2 separate regions of the Homo sapiens genome follow, and region 1 is linked to region 2. The links are contacts of gene promoters, found by promoter capture Hi-C in human tissues and cell types (Jung and others, 2019). All regions are on one chromosome and are shown on one strand. The core of a region is centred on a gene start or on the middle of the fragment in contact, and the rest is flanking DNA. Distances in the headings are between cores, read along the strand shown.

Region 1 (4,334 bases), core at 745-3,244, 130 kb after region 2:
CCTTCCCGCTCTCGGTCTCACCCTAAGGGCTAAGGCGACCGAGAAAGCCCCATTCTCCAGTAGGTAATGGGGCGGCGCCCGGTGGGCTGCAGGTGGGGAGGGCTCCCAGCGCCGCCAGCGGCCACCCGGGGCGCCGGCTCCTGGAGGGAGAGTGGCCTAGAAATATCCAAGGAATCCGAAGCTTCCCCTCCTCCACCTCTGCCAGTACGGAAACACCCCACCGTCACAATCCTAAAGCGGGGAGATGGGATGGGAATTGTCTTACTTGGCAAGGCAGGGTACCTTCATTGCCAGACGCCCTCATTTGTGTGTTCCTCCTTGCTCCAGCGAGATAGAACCTTTTGCGCCCCCAACCCCGTTTCGTGGAGTGAGCCCACTACCCCTTCTCCCTCCCTCACTTCTCCTTTCATGTAGGACCCCCGCCCCCTTGCTTTCCTTAGCCAGGCCCGCTACATTTATCTGATAATTGAGTTATTAAAAGATTTGGTTTCCTTGGGCCTATAAATCAATAAACAGTAGGATTAACGCAATAGTTTGCCTTTTAAGTCAAGGGAGACGTTTAAGGCAAGCCCCTTTGAGCTTTGTTTTCAAACCAAACAGGTGAGTTGCAGCTCTCCCCCCGGCCCCTGCACTCTTCAGACATTTGGTCCCTGCCCACTCCTAAACGCTCAGTCCCAAAACAAAATAGCGAAAGACAGGAGGAGTCAGGATGTGGCAGTGCTGCCTTCACACTTTCCACTTCGCAAGTTCTTTTAAAGGTTCCAAAGATCTCCAGACCATTCTCTGCCAAACCCTGCCGCCTCCTGCACGTATTGCAGGTCTCTGGGGAGCAAGAAATGTCCTGTTTGGGTGAGGATTCCGTCACCTAAAAAGATCTTTAACTTCTCCCCCAAAGTGGGAAGGTAACTTTCTCCCCCTTTTCCCCACCACCTTCACTCCTACACCCCCAATTACCTTGCATTTTCTTTCCTTCCTTCTGGCCTCCACACCCATAGCTTTCCTCCATCCCCACTTAAAGAACCGAAGAGGCTTTTAAAGACCTGGCTGCTTTGTTTTCCTTGGCCAAGGAAGCCACTTTCTCTCAAGCAATTATTTCATATCCTACGAAAACTTTGGTCGAATGGAAAACTCGAAACCTCGAGCTTATCTACACACTGTTCCTCTGCTACAATGCTTTCCTAGTTAAGAGTGTTTATAGAGAATTTGTCATCACATCTGATATCCTGTACTTGTAATACATTATGTGGAAAGGAAATAACCTTAAACCGTCTGATGTTGCCTCAAGAGCCCAAACGGCGTTTCCCCACCTTTGACGATGTATGTGAAATTACTGGCTTAAAAAAAAAAGTATCAATTTTTTTTTAACGGAATGAACACTATCCTTCTTTAAATGCCAAAATCGACTCCACCTTTGAGTTGGTCTCTAATTCTCTAACATTGTTTTTGCCACACAATCAAGAAATATCAATCTATTGACTCTTCACGAGAAGAGCTCTGGAGGGTATTCATGTTAAGTTTGTATATATTTATTTATGCTTAATTTAATGGGAATGTGTAAATATGGCGAGCAAGTAGTTTGGGATTATTTATCTGTGAATCTATACCTCTGTGAATGGGTGGTTAAAAAACCTCTTGACCCTAGATAGAATCCTATCTGAATTTTTCTGTTCTTTATAAACAAGCTGTTATGGTAATGGGTAGAAATTGGTTTATTGTCCAGTGTTAATCTGATTTACATAAATAAAAAGATTGTTGTGTTTTCATCTTCAGTTTCTTAAATGTGGACAATGTTTTTAATTCTACCGACAGAGGAAAAGTGTAAGAAGCTTTTTACTTTTTGTCCTCCCCCATCGAAGCACCCACAGCGTTTTCATTACAACAGAAATATAATAAATTTTGCTTCTCAGAAAAATGAACTTTTTTTCACTAGGAGAAGTGTTTTTGATTTTTTTAAATTCCAAATTTACATTCTTCTCTCCTATTTCTAACCAGATTTGCAATAAAAGCTAATGTTAACTGAATCTTTTGGTTTCTTCTGCCCTTTACAAATCGAGGAGTCAAATTTACTTCCCAGGTAACTAGAGGACTCTGGGTTGCTGTCAGAGATGATGCTCCCTTCCCACTGCTCGTGGGTTGGCATTCTGGCATAGTGTTCTAAGAAGGAGATGGTGCACGGTGCAGGAGAAGTCTTCAGGGCTGGGTGTGGGCTCCTGCACCCCTCAACTTGGGATATGAAGGAGTTAACCCCCATTTCAGAATTGAACCCGACCCTGACCTCATTAGCAGTGCAAGGCCCTCCATAAACAATGGAGGAAAAAGCTCCCTCAACTGAGAAGAGGAAAAAAGTGTACATGTCTTAGGAAGTTGGGGGGCTCCTACCCTAGGCTCAGAGGCTGCCTAGAGAAGCCAGAGCTTTTCACACCTGGGTTAATAGGCTTCAGCTGGGCCCTAATGGGCTGCAGTGATCAAACATCGTCTCAATCTGTATTTTATTCCAAGGCTTAGGTGTCTTCCTTGAGGCCAGGAAAGCAAAATCACCCACGATGTTAAACAGTTTGGATGAGTCACTGCTCCTTTTTGCGCCTCAAGGTCTTTATCTGTAAAAATAAATATGGACCTCCTAAGGTCCTTTACTTCATCAATATTGCCTATAGTTTAATTATAAAAAGCAGAAACAGCAACCTGTATATGAGTTTAAGGAGAATTGGAAACTTTAAATCATGATGATCCCAGATTTATATATCAGTGCTTAGCATATAGTTTGTTTTCAGTTAATAATATGCCTCCCATACCAATTTTCTGTTTTTAAACGTGAATCTTTTTCAATTGGACTTCCTTATAGGGAAAGGCAGAAGGAACAATGGAATCTGCTTTATGTGAGATTTCCCCCTTCCTGTCCTATTAATTAAAAGCGGGAAGATCATGGCTAGAACTATAAATAGTGGAATCAAAGAAAAGCAAAACAAACAAACAAACAAAAAAAAACAAAAAACAAAAAATGGGGGGGGGAATAAAAGGAAACAAGGAAGCAGAGAAAACCAAGGGATGTGTGCTTATGAGGACATACATTTATCTAGAAAAAAATAGATATGTCTTATTCTCTGGTTCAATTGTTACACTGAGTGTTCCTTTCATTTGCTTTACAGAGGATGGGAGTTGGTTACCACTGGGATTATACAAAGCAGGTGGTGGGTAATTTCCATATCGTATGGCAATTTTTCCTGCTCAAGGTTAGCACGAGCCCTTGATAAACCGACCTGCAATCTATTATCCCACAGGTAAGCTCCAGGCTACTCCTACCCACCACCGCCACTTGGCAAAAAGAGGGTCTGAAACAATCACCTTTAGTAAGTAAAACCCAAGATTTTGAGGAGCCTGAAAATAACTGAAGGAAAGACCTGGCAAGAATAACCAAAAAGGGAAAGAAAAGGGGTTGGAAGCTGGAGACAGCCTTGACTAAGACAGCCCTGGGCTGCGTGTCACAGCTCCCCGGCCCCTTTGTTACAGTGTTAGCAGGCTGTAGAGGGAGTAAGGAAAGAGCAGTAGCTAGAACCTCTAGGTCGTTGACCGGCCCAGCGCAGGGACCCTGAGACCGCCAGATCCGGTGGGCGGCTTACAGTGGCCCAGAACGCACCCGCCGGCTCGTGTTAGCGGGTTAAGGGCTTGATTAAAAATAGTGCTGGAAGGAAGACCCGATTATTTTTTTATGAAGCCACATTCCTTTTCTTCATTTGCAAATAACAGTTCCGTAGGGTCCCTTCCCAGGGACCCTGGGCGCCGAAGTTAGGGGCCACCTGAGAGTTGTTGGCCCGGTGGGAAGTGTCCCTTCCTGAGGGCGCTCTCGGCTTCTCAGGGCAAGCTGCCTTCCACGCTTGGACTTTGAGGGCGGTTGTCTGTCATGTTGAAGCCTCAGAAATTAAACGTGCAGCTCACAAGTCCATTAATTTGAGCTTCCCATTAATCTATTTATAAGTGAGCCAGCGCTTGCTCTATAAATACAGTCCTATAAAATTGAACTCCTTCCCATAAATCTTCCAAGCTGTTTATTTACATGTATTCCCTGGCTCTCTAACGATCCTGGTGTAAACTTGGGGAAGACTCGGGCAGACCCGACCCACGACGGGGTGGGGTGTGGGGCGGGGGGGCGCGCTCTCCTCCCGTTCCTCTCCGCCGGGATCGCGGTATCCTAGGGGAGGGAGGAACTGCGCGCGGTCGGAGGGAGTGGATAAAAAAGACAGGGCGAAAACTCATTTTTCCTTCTTGACTTTGTTTCCTTGTTTCTATCCTAAACTCGCAGTCTCCATATTTCCCATCACACGCTCCACGGTGATTTA
Region 2 (4,918 bases), core at 732-3,231:
CCTAAAAGTCACTCAGGAAAGTGAACCATGAAAGTGGGGTTAGGGGGTGGAATGCGATGATTGCCAGTTAGTTGGTGATGTCCTGATGTTCACAGGGTCCAGGCTACTGGAGGTCATTCCATGGGGTGTACTCAGTTCAAGGCCAGAGCTCATTACCGAGAGTATCATAAAGCTATATCTTCTGAGTGCGGTGGCAGGGGTGAGGGGGGCTATGTGTGGCTCTTATTCCAGACAGGGACAAACATGTGGAACAAACACTCTGGGCCAGCAGGCAGAGCAGGCGGCCACATCTTCCTGAGCTTCCTCATTGTTGTTCCCCGGGGAGAGGGTTTTGTGTCTGCTGCCTGGACCTAAACTGGGAAGAGAAGGTACCGTCACCTTCAATGAAGGTGTATCTGACAGTAGGGGTGTTGGAAAGGAGATTGCAACATGTCTGAGAAGGGCTATCCTCTTCCATTTGACCGGGACTAACTGGGAAGCCAATATCATCCACCAGGAAAAGCGCACCTGGGCATTCCCCAAGATAACCTGCAAGTCCTACATATTCTTCCAGGGAATGGTCTGCACTTTCCCAGGGGCAGGGGTGCCTGAGTTAAGGTCGTGGGGGCAGTCTCCATCTCCCAGAGATGATTAGTTATTTTCTCCGTGGGTAAGCTATGGAGGCCCCACTCAGACCTGGTAAACAAAGACTCCACTGCAAACATTTTTGGGATTCAACCCCTAGAGCCAACAGCACTCATTTTACCCCTTTTACTTAAAGATTAAGTTGGATATTCTTCCTTTTTGTCATCATTGGTCTCTCAGTCTCCTTACTTCATTAGGCCAAAATATGGAATTTCAAGGAGGGGTGGGAGGGGGGCAGCACTGGCACACCTTGAAATAGGGAACAAGTGTTGGCTGCTGACCCCATGTGGGGCTGAAGAATCGTGTATCTCCATTTCAGACAATGCATTTCAATTCTTGTCGTGTGCCTTTGTCCATTTGTATAAAGCAAAGAGCTCTGAGTGACAGCCCCAGTTAGCCTGCATGAGCAGATCCTAATAAACCCTCCCAAACCCCAACCTAAAAAAAAAAAAAGCCACATGCCTGTTTGCCTGAGGCTTATTATTAAGACACCTTCTCAGCTTAAACACTTAAAAGCAAACCAAATGAAATGGCAATTAAGACTGAATTACCCCTTCTATCTATGAGATGAGTCTGTGGGGCCAGCCAGTTCTTTCTTATAATGTAGACACTGAGGAGCAAAGCCTCAGTATTTCAGGTTTATAGCTACCACCACCCCCTCCAGGCACTAAACAACTTGGTGGAGGAAGCTGAATTTTGAAGGAAGGAAAGCTCAAAAACTGTTTGAAAGTCAAGAAATCCACTGAAGAGATGGAAATATGTGTGCACTGCTTCCTTCCTGCCCTCTATTTATAAAATATAACTTCCAAGCATTTAAGGGTTATTTTGGGGGTAATAGTGTTCAAAAACCTAATGCTACTGCTGAACGGTCTACACCCCACCACCACCAGCAGTGTTTCCAAAAGGGAAGAAGAAAAACACAAAAGAGGGGGGATATGGTTTGGTTTGGGGAGTGAAAGACAACAGTTTACCTAAATGTAGAATCTTGTCTTACATCTTTATTCCCTTGCATTTTTCCTAAATGCATTGCCAGTTACACCATTTCCTGATGATGGAAACTTGGGACTGTCCATCACCATTATTTATTTTTAAAGCTGCTGAAAAGTGTAAGCCACCGCTTGATTTTGCCTTTCAAAAAAGGGGAAAGAACCCAAATTCAATGTAAATATGGAAAGACCAGCATTGTTTCCACTTGGGCGAAGGCAGACACCCCAATCTGGGCAAAATTGATTCGGGTGGTTGTTGGAAAAAGCAGCTTTCAGCATCCAGGGAGTGGAACCAATAGGAATGAACACTTCCCCATATAAAAGGAAGCTTTAATTAATATATATTTCTATCTCTAATATACATATATTGGAGCTAGAGCTCTAGCTTCACAATAAAATGTGTGCAAATACTCTCCACAGAGATAAGTCCCCACCTCAGTCGGTATAGAAAAGCATGATAAAGGTTGGAAAAAATGGATAAAAATGTTGAAAGAACCTCCAGTTCCTTATTAGGCGAAGATACAATATTTATTCCTTGTCTCCTGGGATAAATCTCTTCTGCCTATTGTCCTCCCAGTTCTCAGTGCTGATGCTTAATTTTCAAAACTTCTATATTACCAAGGGACCTACGACATCAGCCAAAGAAATACTCAGCAAGTACAAAATCTGTTCCAGGGAGCTGCTTTTGTGCAGAGGGAAAATTTTGTTCCTACAGGTTTTTAAGTGGGTACGAGGCAAGGAGCTATCTGATCCGGGCAAAACCATTACAATTTAGATATCTACCTATAGAACATTTTTTTTTTCCTTTAAAAATTGGAAAATACAAGAAGTTTGGATTTTTTTTTCCCGATTCTTTTTTTGGAGGGGGAAATTGCATCGTAAGCTTTCGGAGAAACCCAACATGTCAACTACCTTTCCGGGACTAGTCCACGATGCCGAGGTATTATTACTTTTTTTTTTTTTTTTTTTTGAGCGCGCGTGTGTGTGGCGGCGGCGGCGGTGGCGGCGGTGGCGGCGGCGGTGGCAGCCTCCCCTGTCTCTAATCTATATTGGACCGTTACGTTTAATTATAATCTGTCTTTCGGGGGAAGTTAAGGAAGGAAAGGGGAGAAAGTTCGTTATGACATCTGTCGCCAGGGAGGGCAACTCTCTGCCACGTTAAGAAACATTTGCCATAATGAGCGGGAAAACATAATCTTAATAATAAAAGGGGGGAGTGAAGAGAAAGAGATAGAGACGGAAAGAAAGATTCTCAGAAAAGCAAAGAAAAGGGACTGGTGGGGAAGCAGTAGATGCACAAGGGGGATGGGGAAAACGCACCCCTTTTGGAATGGGCTTATTCAAGGAAAGGGAAGCAGAAAAGAGGGAGTCGGATTCCCTCCCTCGAATGACTAAGGAAGGGAGCAAGTTGAACGATTTGCACAGACTGGATTTTTTAAAATATATGGACAATGATTTTGAGCAGCCCGGGCCGAACATCTCGGCATAGACAGGCGCAGAATTTCGATGCTGGGGTCTAGTTAGAGTGGCAAGGCGCCCCGGGCCAGCGCTCTTTTCGGGTGGACTCGTTCCTCTGCTACCCGCGGCCCCGGAGTCAGTTGCAAACCTGGATCCCAACGCCAAGCTCCCTGCACAAGTTGGGCAGGGGCTGTGTGTGTGTCTGTGTGTGTGTGTCTGTGCGTGTGTGTGCGTGTGTGGTGTCACCCGCACCTATATAGGGTGGGGGATTTTTTTTCCGCTCTCTCGACTGTGAGGACGAGGCCGCCCACCCCCAGTTCGCCTGTTTGCAAAGGCTCTCTGGTGAAGACGCTGAGACCCGGCTTCGGCTCGGCCCGAGTCCTACGCGCTCGCTTTCCTTGGAGTGCCAGAGAAAGCTCCTGGCTCCGGGAGAGCGGCGCCTTGGTTGCAAAATGACAAACCTCAAGTTTTTCTGCTCTCCCTTTTCCCCCTCTTCCTTCCAGATACGTCACGACGGATCAAACAGCTACCGTTTGATGCAGCTTGGCTGTCTGGAGTCAGTAGCCAATTCCACTGTCGCCTATTCCTCCTCCTCTCCTTTAACTTACTCCACCACCGGCACCGAGTTTGCGTCCCCCTACTTCTCCACTAACCACCAGTACACCCCGCTCCACCACCAGTCCTTCCATTACGAGTTTCAGCACAGCCACCCGGCCGTCACCCCCGACGCCTACTCTCTGAACTCTCTCCACCACTCGCAACAGTACTACCAGCAGATCCACCACGGGGAGCCCACCGACTTTATTAACCTGCACAATGCGCGGGCGCTCAAGTCGTCCTGCCTGGACGAGCAGAGGCGGGAGCTGGGCTGCCTCGATGCCTACCGCCGCCATGACCTGTCCCTCATGAGCCATGGCTCTCAGTATGGAATGCACCCAGATCAAAGACTCCTGCCAGGGCCCAGCCTGGGGCTGGCCGCCGCGGGAGCAGACGACTTGCAGGTAAATAAGCATGCAGCGAATTTGTCTGCTCCCTCCCCTCTTCGCCCTCCCCCTGCCGCCCCATTAATGCTCCGACTGTAAAGCGTCTCTCTTTCTCTCTCTCTTCTCCTCTCTCTCTCTCTCTCTCTCTCTCTCTCACACACACACACACACACACACACACACACCACTTATGGAAAGTTATCAAAACAATTAGAGGAGGAGTGTGCCCGTTCTCTTCCTCTCATTGGATCCAAGCATTTCACCTGGAAGTGCGGGAGTCCGGGCGGCTGCGGCCCTCCATCTTTGGTTTGTCCTCACAGAAGTCTTTTGTGAATCAACATTTGTGACCCTGAGGGGATGAGGTGGAGGAGATCGAGGAGTCTGGGGTTGGGCCAACCGGACTCAGAGTAAGATCCAATAAATTGATGACCAATCGTACCCTCAATCTCCGCACTTTACAGGGTCTTCCGAGGCGTCCCAGGTGTTTGTCTCAGACTGAGCTTGTGGAGATCTTACTACAAACAGGCTTGTTCTAAGGAAATTGTTGGGACCCTAAGCTTGAACAAAAGTTTCACCAAATACACTAGATATCTGTGGAAAGTAAAGAATCGCAAATGAAAGTCTCAAAGTTCTACCCCAAGGAAATAATCCGCACAGTGCACTTTGCCAGGGTGTAGGGTTGAGTTTAATTCTCTCCGCCTGACGTGCACTCAAAACCGCAGCCCAGTTAGGTAATTTACAAGTTTATTTTTGCTCTTCCAGCCATTACATTTTACGTAAAATGCACCTCCTTAAAAAGATAAAAATGAGGCAGTAACGGTAATGAAAGAGGGAAAAAATAAAGAAGGAAGGAAGGAAGGAGAAAAG

Evidence for each region. Contacts are between HindIII fragments. The study calls those that stand out against the background at their distance.
Region 1: a fragment that was not itself captured here is called in contact with the fragment with the promoter of TFAP2D in region 2 in 2 of the 25 tissues and cell types used here (H1 embryonic stem cells and neural progenitor cells).

What each region holds. Positions count from the first base shown.
Region 1 is chr6:50,845,851-50,850,184 of GRCh38, forward strand. TFAP2B (transcription factor AP-2 beta) reads left to right here. Exons shown (of 7, transcript NM_003221.4): 7 at 1-1,769. Among named protein-coding and RNA genes, the nearest start is that of TFAP2B, 29 kb to the left of the region's middle. RefSeq lists enhancers at 3,170-3,671, 3,672-4,171. The HindIII fragment of the contact is 5,266 bases long and covers 1-4,334 here.
Region 2 is chr6:50,711,545-50,716,462 of GRCh38, forward strand. TFAP2D (transcription factor AP-2 delta) reads left to right here and starts at 1,982. Exons shown (of 8, transcript NM_172238.4): 1 at 1,982-2,550; 2 at 3,572-4,069. The coding sequence starts at 2,512. RefSeq lists an enhancer at 3,716-4,246. The HindIII fragment of the contact is 8,496 bases long and covers 1-3,550 here.